Regions from separate parts of the Homo sapiens genome. Here region 2 is linked to region 1. The links are contacts of gene promoters, found by promoter capture Hi-C in blood cells and fetal thymus (Javierre and others, 2016). All regions are on one chromosome and are shown on one strand. The core of a region is centred on a gene start or on the middle of the fragment in contact, and the rest is flanking DNA. Distances in the headings are between cores, read along the strand shown. Region 1 holds the start of PIGM (phosphatidylinositol glycan anchor biosynthesis class M). Region 2 holds the start of PEX19 (peroxisomal biogenesis factor 19).

What was found. The method cuts DNA at HindIII sites, captures the fragments that hold promoters and counts their contacts. A CHiCAGO score of 5 or more calls a contact.
Region 2: the fragment with the promoter of PEX19 here is called in contact with the fragment with the promoter of PIGM in region 1 in 4 of 17 cell types (erythroblasts, fetal thymus, M0 macrophages and 1 more); the score reaches 7.1 in erythroblasts.

What each region holds. Positions count from the first base shown.
Region 1 is chr1:160,028,495-160,035,364 of GRCh38, reverse strand. PIGM (phosphatidylinositol glycan anchor biosynthesis class M) reads left to right here and starts at 3,375. Exons shown (of 1, transcript NM_145167.3): 1 at 3,375-6,870. The coding sequence starts at 3,626. The coding sequence ends at 4,897. The HindIII fragment of the contact is 5,226 bases long and covers 77-5,302 here.
Region 2 is chr1:160,283,337-160,290,206 of GRCh38, reverse strand. PEX19 (peroxisomal biogenesis factor 19) reads left to right here and starts at 5,074. Exons shown (of 8, transcript NM_002857.4): 1 at 5,074-5,152; 2 at 6,568-6,677. The coding sequence starts at 5,083. It overlaps LOC107985219 (a long non-coding RNA gene), which reads right to left and starts at 5,842. Exons shown (of 3, transcript XR_001738265.2): 1 at 5,352-5,842; 2 at 3,846-3,890. COPA (coat protein complex I subunit alpha) reads left to right here. Exons shown (of 33, transcript NM_004371.4): 33 at 1-1,613. The coding sequence ends at 50. The HindIII fragment of the contact is 4,290 bases long and covers 4,940-6,870 here.

The DNA of each region.
Region 1 (6,870 bases), core at 2,126-4,625:
GTACTATTAATTAATATCAATCTGGTAGTAGAATTGAGACATAAGACATTAAATCAGTTAAGAGATTTTTAAAGCTTGAGGGAAAGGCAATTGTCACAGATCCTGGTATAGTATAGTATAGGTGTTCGCTACGTATTATTTGAGTTGTTGAAGGTCTGAACTAAGGTGCAGGATGCTGGGCATGGAAAGAATTAGAAATAGATTCCAAAGAAATGACAAAGCAAGACATATGAACAAAATCTAGTGAAAAAGAAAGTGATTAAAGTAGTCAAGGTTCTAGCAGGAAACAGATGGTATACTCAAAGGGCCAGTGGACATGTTTTAATGAAGAAACTATTTGCAAAGGTATGGGCAAGTTTAATAAATCAACAAGATATGGTGATGTACCCAGGCACTCGCAAAGTAGGACGCCTTTACCAGCCTTAAACCTGAAGGGACAGTTACTGGAACCATGAGACTTGTACCCAAAGGAGAGAGCTATAGCTTCAACAGGAGCCATGGCTTTAGGTGAGGAATTCCAGACACTGCCAAAGATCTGCTAGTGCCTCCCACTGGTCTATTCTAATGGGAAGCCAGAGAACAAGGGAGATTGAGTGATGCTACCCATACAGCCTAACCTCTTGGAACACAGAACAGGGCAAAAAAGATGAATAGTGGATATGGAAGGGTAATGAGAGTATATGCAGCATAGTGAACAAGGACAAGGTTCCTGCTAGGGAAACTAAAGTTGAGCGATCCATGTTTGTGCTTTCCTTAGTCATTGGCTCTAAAAGGATAGAAATCTAGGAGCAGATAGTGAAAGGGGGAATTAAGAAGGATTGTAAGTAACAGTCCGAGAGGTAATGAACAGTTGAGCATTTGAAAAAAATGTAACTCTTTCAGAAAGAGGTGAGAAAATACAATCCCTAAACCCAATGCAAAAAGTTCAATATGGGGTCCTCGGACCCTGTGATGTATCTCTTCCACCCAGAAATAGTAACTAAAGTTGGACCTCTCTGTCCAATTTGTTTTACAGATTCCAGTCTCTTCTTCGTTCCCACAACTGCTATCTACATCTCACTCCTTTGACTTCAGTGACATGCTTAGTTTTTTTTTTATTTTATTTTTTTATTAGTTGTTTCCTTATCTGCCTAAATTTGGTGCCTCCCATCTCTCTACTAGGACAGCCATGTAGGGACAGATTGACTGAAACCTTTCTGCTATACTACTGAAACCAATCCAGCCACAAGGACCCTTACTTAGTTAATCCTCAGACACCTACCTCCCATATTTTCTATCTTAGGGAACTAAGCCTCACTTATCTATTATTTGCAGAAGAAAAGAATAAATCAGAGGTAGAAAGAGTCACAGTGAGAGAGAATATCCAGAATATCAAGATGAGAGATCAATAAGAGAAAACATAGGAAAATTAGAATTTGTGATCAACATTTTATTGGCAAGTCAGCCACATAATGATTAAGATATTCTAGGTCAGACAGACTGGGTTTTGAGTTCTAGCACTGTCACTAGTTAGCTATGTGACTTGGGAAAATTACTTAATCTCCATAAGCCTTGGTTTTCTTCATTTGTAAAGGTGGGAATATCTACCTTACATGAAAAGTACTTAGCATAATGCCTGGTACATTGCAAATGAGTCCTCAACAAATCCAGCTATTATAAATAATAGTAATCATCATCATCATAATCATCATTATATGAGTGGTGATGTGCTGCCACTATATATATGGCTAATATACTGCAAAAAAATGGTTAGAATTATCAATCTAAGGCATGTAATGATACCAAGGCATATAAAAGGACATAGAGCTATCACAATATGAATATGGAATATATAAGATTAACACAGTTCATCTCCAAGGGATAAATTGAAGTGTAGGATGGATGAGCAGCAGGTAGTTCTGGGAGCTGCATGTTCAGACTGCATGAAGTCACCTCCTTTTCCTTATTCTAGTCTAGAAGACTTCCCCTAGGAAGCAGGCTTATTCTATAAAATCCAATTAGTCAGTATTTACTAAGCATTTACCATGTGCCTAAGACTACAATAAATTACACATAATTGAAAAAAATTAAGGATAAGATATAATTTCTACCCCCAAGAACCCTATAATCTCTTGTGAGGGCTATGAATACAATCTAAAATAAAGTATCAAATTCTACAATGCGGACTATGTAAGTGCACTAAGTAACCACGGAAAGGGAAGAGCTAATGGGTTACAGTCCTTGGCAAGAAATTCATGGAAGTAGGGTTGGAGTGGGGTGGGGGGAGCAGGGGACCTTGACATACATAAAGGATATTTAAAAGGGAAAATAACTGGGAGTTGGGAGCAATCCAAAGATGCCACTCTAGAAATATTCTGGTAGGAGGAACCTCTAAAATCAATTCAACTTTACTGAATGGCTACTAGTACTGTGTTAGATGTTGAGGTAGAGAAAAGAACAAGATAATCTCTGATACCGAAGAATTGAAAGTGTCCTGATGGAAAACTAGGAGAGCAAAACAAACAAAAACAGTTATTACAAAGCAGTGTGACAAATGCTGTAACAAAGGAATGACCAGGGAGTTCTGGAGCACTGGGAGAACTTTTAGTAGCATGGCAGGGTCTTCTGTGTGAGTGATTTTCTGGAACTTAGATCCCGTCCGCCCCAGTCTACCTATCCTCGGACAGGGGAGGGGACTGGCATCTAAGTCATTCATTCTGCGTGATGAGGAAGTGAGTGGGAGCTGGGAGCTAACACTTGCACTGATGCCTGAAGGGTTGAGTAGGTATTTGCCAGAGTGATTGGAGAGCGGATGGCAACTTTGACAGAAGAAATAGCAAATACAGAGATACTGAGGCATAAGGGGCTGACAAGTTAAGGAATTTTGTGACGCTTTCCTGTCTTCTTTCCCATCACCTTCACCTAGGGTTGCCGGATAAAATACAAGCTGCCCACTTAAATCTGAATCTCTGATTACCAACTAGTAATTTAAAAATATAAGTATGCCTCCAATATTGCATGGAACATACACACTCAGCCCCCTTCAACTCATCCTGTCCTGTCCGGGGCCCACAAATCCCCGGTGAATACCGGCGAGCTAGTGGAGTAAAGCATGAGAAGGCTTATCTTCCTTTCACTCCTACATTTTTCACTCTCGGATCTCCAGCCCAGGACTGAAGGATGTAGCGCGCAGCCCGCAGCTCGCTGCTCGTCGGAGGGTTTTCCTCTGAGGACTGGAAATGGGGCGCGGGAAGAGGGCGGGGGGCGGCGGGCTGTCACTTACAAAGAAATCTCACTCCACTCCATAAAATCCTCAAGCCAGTGCCGGATTTCCCGGCAAGCGGACGTCTCCCCTCCCACGGACCGGAAATCCCGCCTCCGCTGGAAGAAGAAGCGGAAGCGAGACCGTCCATCCAGAGGAAGGCAAGTTTTTGGCTCGGGCGGCTGAGAAGACCGCGCGGGGCTGGAGACAGGTAGCAGTACGGGGGCGGGGCTTCATGCCGGATGTGATAGTCTGCAGTCGTTTCGGTTGGCAGCCTGGCGGGTGGGAGATGCGGCGGCCACCTGCTGCAAAGAACCGAAGGGAAGGTTAGAAGTACGAAGGCAGTTTGGAGCTGGGGCTAAGCAGCTGTCGCACGGTCAGATCATGGGCTCCACCAAGCACTGGGGCGAATGGCTCCTGAACTTGAAGGTGGCTCCAGCCGGCGTCTTTGGTGTGGCCTTTCTAGCCAGAGTCGCCCTGGTTTTCTATGGCGTCTTCCAGGACCGGACCCTGCACGTGAGGTATACGGACATCGACTACCAGGTCTTCACCGACGCCGCGCGCTTCGTCACGGAGGGGCGCTCGCCTTACCTGAGAGCCACGTACCGTTACACCCCGCTGCTGGGTTGGCTCCTCACTCCCAACATCTACCTCAGCGAGCTCTTTGGAAAGTTTCTCTTCATCAGCTGCGACCTCCTCACCGCTTTCCTCTTATACCGCCTGCTGCTGCTGAAGGGGCTGGGGCGCCGCCAGGCTTGTGGCTACTGTGTCTTTTGGCTTCTTAACCCCCTGCCTATGGCAGTATCCAGCCGCGGTAATGCGGACTCTATTGTCGCCTCCCTGGTCCTGATGGTCCTCTACTTGATAAAGAAAAGACTCGTCGCGTGTGCAGCTGTATTCTATGGTTTCGCGGTGCATATGAAGATATATCCAGTGACTTACATCCTTCCCATAACCCTCCACCTGCTTCCAGATCGCGACAATGACAAAAGCCTCCGTCAATTCCGGTACACTTTCCAGGCTTGTTTGTACGAGCTCCTGAAAAGGCTGTGTAATCGGGCTGTGCTGCTGTTTGTAGCAGTTGCTGGACTCACGTTTTTTGCCCTGAGCTTTGGTTTTTACTATGAGTACGGCTGGGAATTTTTGGAACACACCTACTTTTATCACCTGACTAGGCGGGATATCCGTCACAACTTTTCTCCGTACTTCTACATGCTGTATTTGACTGCAGAGAGCAAGTGGAGTTTTTCCCTGGGAATTGCTGCATTCCTGCCACAGCTCATCTTGCTTTCAGCTGTGTCTTTCGCCTATTACAGAGACCTCGTTTTTTGTTGTTTTCTTCATACGTCCATTTTTGTGACTTTTAACAAAGTCTGCACCTCCCAGTACTTTCTTTGGTACCTCTGCTTACTGCCTCTTGTGATGCCACTAGTCAGAATGCCTTGGAAAAGAGCTGTAGTTCTCCTAATGTTATGGTTTATAGGGCAGGCCATGTGGCTGGCTCCTGCCTATGTTCTAGAGTTTCAAGGAAAGAACACCTTTCTGTTTATTTGGTTAGCTGGTTTGTTCTTTCTTCTTATCAATTGTTCCATCCTGATTCAAATTATTTCCCATTACAAAGAAGAACCCCTGACAGAGAGAATCAAATATGACTAGTGTATGTTCCACACCCTCTGCTACTGTGTTACATTCTGATTGTCTTGTATGGACCAGAAGAGAGCTTTGGGACATTTTTTCTGAACATTCTAAGCATTCTAGTGAAAGTTCCCATGTTCCAACAGAACTTAAAAGCAATGTTTGCCTTATATATAAAAGGGACACAATAATTGAGGTCCACCTTCTAGGAAATCCTAGGACTCGTTTATTTGGGACATGGTGGGAATAAAGGTCACATATTGGAAAATGGAAAGGCTGATGAAACTATCAGATACTAAAACATTCTTAAAATAGAGGAATATAGTTAGAGACATCAGGTTTAAGCCAGTATTTGTTCCTGTTTTACAATGCTTCTGTCTTAAGCTGTGTCTTAACTTTTAACACCCATCTTTTCTTTCTAAAGCTTTCCTGACAGCTGTGAAAATCCAAAAAATATTCTTAAACTGTGTATGGTGGCCCTTGCCTGTAGTCTCAGCACTTTGGGAGGCTGAGGTGGGAGGGTCGCTTGAGTTCAGGAGTTCTAGACCCACCTGGGGCAAGATGGTGAGACCTAGTCTCAAAAAAAAAAAAAAAAATTAGCCAGGTGTTGTGGTGCACCCCTGTAGTCATAGCTGCATGGGAGGCTGAGGTGGGAGAATTGCTTGAGCCCAGAGCAAGACCCTGTCTCAAAAAAAAAAAAAAAAAAAAAAAGGAAAGGACAACTTTTTAGATAGAAAAGTATTAAATAATACTAAGATGCTTAGTAGTATTATTTTAGAGAGTTTTAAACTTCTATATTAAATGTGGGGTCTTACAAGATAATCCAAAGACTTTGGGAGGCCAAGGCGGGCAGATCACGAGGTCAGGAGATTGAGACCATCCTGGCTAACACGGTGAAACCCCTCTCTACTAAAAATACAAAAAATTAGCCGGGCGTGGTGGGTGCCTGTAGTCCCAGCTACTCCTCGGGAGGCTGAGGCAGGAGAATGGCGTGAACTCCGGAGGTGGAGCCTGTAGTGAGCCGAGATGGCACCACTGCGCTCCAGCCTGGGCGACAGAGCAAGACTCCATATCAAAAAAAAAAAAAAAAAAAGATAATCCAAAGAATTTAAATTGTAATCATGTTTCATGTATTTGTTTTATTACTTACTTTTATAGCACTTAGTCCCAGTGGTATTAGACTGCTATTTGGTTTCATACAAAAAGGATTAAATTTAAATTCATTCATGTTTAGACTTGAGTTATTACATTTTTAAAACTATCATCTTGCCTTTAATGTTTGTGGTCCTACACAAACTATTAGTACATTTCAGTATCCTCTTACCCCTTTGTTTTTAAGTTTTTGATTGCTAAAGCAAGACTTTTTTCTTCTAGAATTTAAGTCAACCAAGTGTTATCTATGTTGTAAAAATGGATAATAGTAGATTTTAGGTGATAAAACAACTTGTTAGTAAGACATTTCCTAGCTTAAAAAAAAAAATCAAAAATTCCATGATAGAAATGCAGACCTGTGAGGGAAACTCCTGAAAAGCATAAGAAGCATCCCAGAGAGCCATGGGTTTTCTAGACCAGAGAATTTAGAGGGAGATTGTGGAACTGAGGCTTAGGTGGTCAGATCGTTTCCCTTATCACTGTAATATTTCTGGGGGAAAAATGCTTTCTGAGTTGTTTAAACAAGCATCCTTACATTTTTTTTTTTAATTAAACAGCCTGTCTAGGCTTGGGATTCCCTAATACTACAGTAGCAGTATATGAATATGATTTTGTGATTGTGTTTTTTAAAAGATAAGTAATTTGATGAACTGTTCTTTTGCAGTCAGAAAACACTCACAAAAAGACAAAAAAAGTTCCACAGTATTATATTTCATGTCAGTTCAGGCCTAAAATCCTTTGCAAATAAGATGTTTATAGGCTGGTCACAATTAACAATGTTATTATTGGCAGCACTTCTTGGATGGATACCTTTTGGGACCTTTCATTAGAAAGAGGGAAAG
Region 2 (6,870 bases), core at 3,825-6,324, 250 kb before region 1:
TTGGCAAAGATGTGATTGGTTTAAGGATCAGTCCTCTGCAGTTTCGCTAAGGCCCCCTTTGTGTGCATGGGTCAGTCACCATATGTTCCCCCCAGAGAATGTGTCTATATCCTCCTTCTAACAGCACCTTCCCCCTGCAGCTACTCTTCAGATCTGGCTCTCTGTACCCTAAAACCTAGTATCTTTTTCTCTTCTATGGAAAATCCGAAGGTCTAAACTTGACTTTTTTGAGGTCTTCTCAACTTGACTACAGTTGTGCTCATAATTGTCCTTGCCTTTCCAGCTTAATTATTTTAAGGAACAAATGAAAACTCTGGGCTGGGTGGAGTGGCTCATACCTGTAATCCCAGCACTTTGGGAGGCTACGGTGGGCAGATCATCTGAGGCCAGGAGTTCGAGACCTGCCTGGCCAACATGGCAACACCCCGTCTCTAATAAAAATATAAAAATTAGCCTGGCATGGTAGCATGCGCCTATAGTCCCAGCTGCTCAGGAGGCTGAGGCATGAGAATCGCTTGAACCTAGGAGGTGGAGGTTGCATTCAACTGAGATCATACCACTTCATTCCAGCCTGGGTGACAGAGCAAGACTCTGTCTCAAAAAAAAAAAAAAGGAAAACTCTGTGATGGACATTTGTTTAGTAAATCCCTTCAGTATTTATCCCTCCTTTCCCCACAGCAGCTTTCTTTCCTGTCAACTAGAAAGGAGCAGGATGTAATAAATACATTTTGGTGTGACTAGGCCACACCAACTCTTAATCATCTCCCATTTTCCTTAGACATTTAAATTTCAAGGCAGGTACCCTCTGTGTACTCAGAAATTTGAAGAAGTTATTTGGTTTTCCAAAATGCACACTGCGGGTTATTGATTTGTTCTTTACAACTATTGTTCTCATATTTCTCACACTAAATAAATCTCTATGAGAGCTTCTTGACTTGGCCATTTATTTCTTGGACACTCTCATGTTCTTGTTCACCCATGCAGGCACCCCACCAAAGTACATATCTTCCTTCCAGTAATAATTTTTAATTACAAAATAAACATCCACTATTGGAAAAAAAAAAAAAAAGCTAGCCGGGCATGGTGGTGGGTGCCTGTAATCCCAGCTACTCTGGAGGCTGAGGCAGAGGATTGCTTGAACCCGGGAGGCGGAGGTTGCAGTAAGCTGAGATCGCGCCACCGCACTCCAGCCTGGGCGACAGAGTGAGACTCCATCTCAAAAAAAAAGAAAGAAAAAAAGAAGCACATGTTTTTCATAGGGTATATATGAGGACCTAAACTGCTGTGAAAATGATAGAAAGCAAGTAGCTCCCTTATTCTGTTTTTGATTGCAGCCTTTTATCTTTTGCTAATTATAGCAATATTTATTGAGCACCTGCCATGTGACTGTCACTGTTCTAGATATTTTACATGTAATATACAGATAAAAGAATAGTACTTTATATATATTACAATGATACAATGATTACATTAACAATACAATATTTTGCTTGTCATATGCTAAGAATAATTGGGTAGAGTGACATTACTGTGCCTTCGATTAAAATAAGTACTTTTTTGCGTGTTAAATTCATGTTTTCAATAAATAATAAATGCATATAGTTGAAAAATCAGTAAATATAAAAAGCTATTCTGTGACAAATCTTTCCACCCTTTCATCAGCCACCCAGTTCCTATCACCTTCCCCTAAACAGGTAACCACTGTTACCAGCTTTCTTACATCCTTCCAGAAATTTTATATATATATATATATACACACACACACATATACATGCACATGCTGATATCACTATGCCATTCTCTATCTCCTTTTATACACAAATGAAACCACACTATTTAACAATTTTGTACCTTTGTTTTTTCATTTAACATTTTTGGTATTTTCTCGTATCAATATATTAGGGAGCTTCACTTTGTTTTTTACTTCTCTTCATACTATACGTTGTATTTTTTAGCTTTATCTTAAGAGTTGCTTTTTTAAACAGCATCCCTAAACTAAGGCTGCCTTCTCAACAGAGTACATACTACTAATGAGATTGTGCCATTGCACTCCACCCTGGGGTACAAGAGCGAGACTTCGTCTCAAAAAAAAAAAAAATGTACATATTAGCCGGGAGTGGTGGCTCACGCCTGTAATCCCACCACTTTGGGAGGCCAAGGCAGGCAGATCACCTGAGGTCAGGAGTTCGAGAACAGCCTGGCCAACACGGTGAAACCCTGTTTCTACGAAAAATACAAAAATTAGCTGGGTAGGGTGGCAGGCACCTGTAATCCCAGCTACTCAGGAGGCTGAGGCAGGAGAATTGCTTGAACCCGGGAGGCGGAGGTTGCAGTGAACTGAGATCACACCATTGCACTCCAGCCTAGGGGACAAGAGCAAGACTTTGTCTTAAAAAAAAAAAAAGGCCGGGCGTGGTGGCTCACGCCTGTAATCCCAGCACTTTGGGAGGCCAAGGCAGGCGGAACACGAGGTCAGGAGATCGAGACCATCCTGGCTAACATGGTGAAACCCTGTCTCTACTAAAAATACAAGATGTGAAATAATTGTGACTCCCAGGCAAGAATTAGAATTTGTTCGATAAACTGTGGAGAACCATTAAATCCTTAAGGAACAGAGTGATATGAAAGCGTTATAAAATACTGTTATTCAACAGTATTCGCTATACATTAGAAGGGCAGAAGGAGCAGTCAGTAGGTCAGTAAATACTGAGATGAGATGTTAGGAATATTAGGAGTAAAAATAGAAAAGCAGAAAGAAGTTTAAGAAATAATGCAAAGAAAGAATCATGCTTGTTTTTGACTCCATTTTAATTATCATCTATTATCTTTTAATTAACATGCTTATATTACATTAGTTTAAAGCCAATTGACCAAGTGTAGTGGCTCACATCTATAATCCCAGTACTTTGGGAGGCCAAGGTGGGCATATCACTTGAGGTCAGGAGTTAAAGACCAGCCTGGCCAATATGGTGAAACACTGTCTCTACTAAAAATACAAAAATTAGTTGGGCATGGTGGCGCGAGCCTGCAGACCCAGCTACTCAGGTGGCTGAGACAGGAGAATCACTTGAACCCGGGAGGTGGAGGCTGCAGTGAGCCAAAATTGCACCACTGCACTCCAGCCTGGGCAACAGTGAAACTCTGTCTCAAAAAATAAAACCAATAGAGATGCCTGTTGATAGACAAGTTTTCTTTTTTTGACGTGCTTGTTACAACTATAGCCATATTGGAGATACACGTGTAAGCAGTTTGAATGAGAAAGTCTGGAATAAATTATGTTGCAGGTGTTGGAAAACAGGTTTATCAGGAAAGGATTTGATTACAGAAGTTTAGAATTGTAAAGGACTTCAAAAGTGATTAGTGGCAGAATTGGGGCTGGAATTTAGGCTTTCTAACTCACAGTTCATAATATTTTGATCCCAAAACACACTACTTGTGGTTGGAAGAAAACAGGTTTTGCAGATATGATTTTACAAGTCTGTGCCCTATCTGTGAAGGACATAGTAAGTGCTTGATCTGGTGCTTGATGCAGTACTCAAATGTGTGTTTAGGAAGCTAAGAATGAAAGTGATGAGGTGACTTAACACAGGATTTTTTTTCATTTAAAATTCTTACCTTGTATCATACTGTGTGTATATCTCATCATACCTCCGGCTCACCCCCACTTAGCTACCTTACAGCAGGGGGTGGTCCTGATTTATCTCTCTGTCCTCACTGTGCCCAGAACAAGACCTTAATAATAGGTGCTCTCTAAGTGCGAAAACAGATTTGTATGTGAAACAGTTGCTACATTCTGACATCTGAATAGAACAATTCCAAAGGAGGAAAGGGACGTCTAGAGTTACCTCTATCTGAGCATTCCCCGTGTTCACTCAGTTGGAGGTTGGGTTCTGTGTGGAGAAAAGGAGATTGTTCAGGGAAAGTAAGTCTATTACTACTGCATTCGAATTGCCCTGCTCAGTCCAAGGTACCAGAGGCTCTCTTAATAACATGGAGTTCTAAGTTCCTGGCCGGCCCTGTGTCCTTTAATCAAACAGTTCTAATAGATAATAGGAAATGAGAGATGCCACTAGATTGGGCAGACAGATGTGCCTGATTAGGGACTGCGAGAGCAAAGAGTGGCCAATGAATGCCTACTAAGTTTTAAACCCTAGCCTGGGAGTTGGGCTTTACAGCAGTGAAGACAACAGACGAAAATCTTTGCGTTCATGGTGTTTAAATTCTGCAGGGTGGGGAGCGGAGAATAAAAAAGTACGGTAGATAGTATGTCAGATACTGTTCAGTGTTAGGAAGAAAAGGAACGGGAATGGCCAAGGAAAGCGTTTCAGAAAAGATAATATTTGAGGGAAACAATGAAGTGAAGCCGGGCGCAGTGGCTCACGCCTGTAATCCCAGCACTTCGGGAGGCCGAGGTGGGCGGATCAGCTGAGGTCCGGAGTTCGAGACCAGCCTGGCCAACCAGCCTGGCCAACATGTTAAAACCCCGTCTCTACAAAAATTAGTCGGACGTGGTGTCGCGCGCCTGTCATCCCAGCTACACGGGAGGCTGAGGCAGGAAGAATCGCTTGAACCCGGGAGGCCAAGGCTGCAGTGAGCCGAGATGGCGCCACTGCATTCCAGCGTAGGCGACAGAGCAAGATTCCTTCTCAAAAAAAAATAAAAAAAAAAAAATGAAGTGAGAGAAAGTAGTATGTTATGTGCCATAATTGTCATATCAATTATATATGTTTAGATTCTGGTTATTTGTAGGCAGTTTGTCTCAATCTGGCCTACTCACAGCTCAGGAAAAAATAATGAAAGAGCTTCGCCAGGTAATTTGGGAAGTTGAAAGAAAGGAGTCCGGGCCTCTAAAACCAGACAGAAAATAACCCTATCTTATCCCTAATTCTGTTTCACAGGAGAAAAGGGAAAAATACCCAAAACACAAACACTCAAAGCTTCCTGGCCCTTTAAAAATGGCGGTTCCGCACTGGTCAACAATACCATTGGTTACCCGAGGCAGAAGAGGGCGGGAGCGAAGGGGTGGAGGGCGTGTCGGCACCGAGGAGGTCCCGCCTCCTACGGCAAGTCGGAGGTAGCAAGATGGCCGCCGCTGAGGAAGGCTGTAGTGTCGGGGCCGAAGCGGACAGGGAATTGGAGGAGCTTCTGGAAAGTAAGAGCCCATAGTGGGAAAGGCCCGAAGAGGGCACGTGTGAGGACCCATTCTGGGGGTTAAGTGAACCTGAGATATTAGGGACGGGCAGGAGAGGCTCTCCAAAGGTTAAATGGGGGCGGAGAGTCTGACCCCCGAGCCCCCCAAAAATCTCTGGGTCATCCTGCCCCACCCCGGCGACTGGAGCTGGGGAGCTCACCTGGGGTCCCTCAGTGGTCCGGATGGTGGATGTTTCCGCAGGACGGCGTTTCATGATACCTCTTCAAACTCCTCTTTAGGTTACTGAGTTCTTAAAGTTCGACTTCAGCAGCAGTAGCAGCAGCAGCAGCATTTGGTTCTTGCTGGGTAGCGAACTACGCACTCACTGATTGCTTACATTAACTCCTAGCAAGCTCGTGGCCGGTCCTTGTGTGCCTCGTCCTGTCTTCCTTAACACGAAAGACACTTTTCTCCTCCTAGTCCTTTTCTCTTTCTCTCGTTAGGCCCCTTAACAGTTCTTTCATCTTGTCAGTAGCTCAAGCGGACTCCTTTCCCTTATTTTGAGAAACTGAGGATGTGGCGATTTCAGGGGAAAGCAGTTCACCCTCCTGAAAGACGGGGGATGTTTTCTTAGCATTACTCTCCACTCCCCTGTTGACTTCCTGCCCAGAGTAGGGCCAGTGCTCTCTCCCTAGGCCTGGCGAACAGAATGGTGGTGAGGACACAGGCTTTTCAGGGCAGAGGTGAATTTGTAATCGCTTGCTCAATCACGGAGATGTGGGCAGGCAGAAAAATGAACAGAAACCCTGAGGAGTGCCAAGTGACTGTGTAAATTAGTGTACGGTTATCTGCAGAGATCAGGCCAAAGGGAGCTCTAGAAGGTTGTTGGGGAGCACTAAACTGGAGAATAAGAGAAGATAGTTTAATGCCGTACCATGGAGTCTGGTATGTAGTCCCTCAGTCTGTGCTGGTACCAGTACCAACAGGAAGCTGGGTGGGATGTCCTGTGCTTTCTCACCAAGTTATTCCTTTTAGAGCTCCAGAGTGAGTTCAGAGGGATGAGGACATCTGTGTTCTCTACTACTGTTGGGTATTTGTATGGGATTTCTAGGGAATCGTTAGGGTGTGGCAAGGGAGACACTATAGATGGAGATGTCTCTGCAGAACTTTTTAATCCTCTCCTCCCAGCTCTGAGATGGACATTTGTTCCACCTTAAGGGATTTCTTTGCCTTTGCTCACAATAAATTAGGTAATCCAGAAGGAAGTAGGAGGCTCATTGAGGGTGGTCTGGGGAGGTGGGGGACTCAAGGAGGAAAATTGAGGAAAGTTGGCAATTTGAAAAATCATATTCCTAATGCTTTGCCCAGAAACCACCCAGCCTTGCTTGCATTCTCATCTGTCGCCAACACACACACCATGTCTCTTGTCTCTGAAGGTGCTCTTGATGATTTCGATAAAGCCAAACCCTCCCCAGCACCCCCTTCTACCACCACGGCCCCTGATGCTTCGGGGCCCCAGAAGAGATCGCCAGGAGACACTGCCAAAGTATAAATTCCACCCCCTTAAGGGATGGGGAGGGGATGGGCATGCAGCCCTGAGCAGAGGTTGGGCAGGCCCCTATGGGCCAGAGGGGAATGTGGGAGGGTACCTTGGCCTCACATTGGTGAGTGCTCTTGCCAGCCTCAGTCCTTGTGAAATAAGGACTTGAGGTTGAGTGGGGGAATCTCAGAGTTCCTTG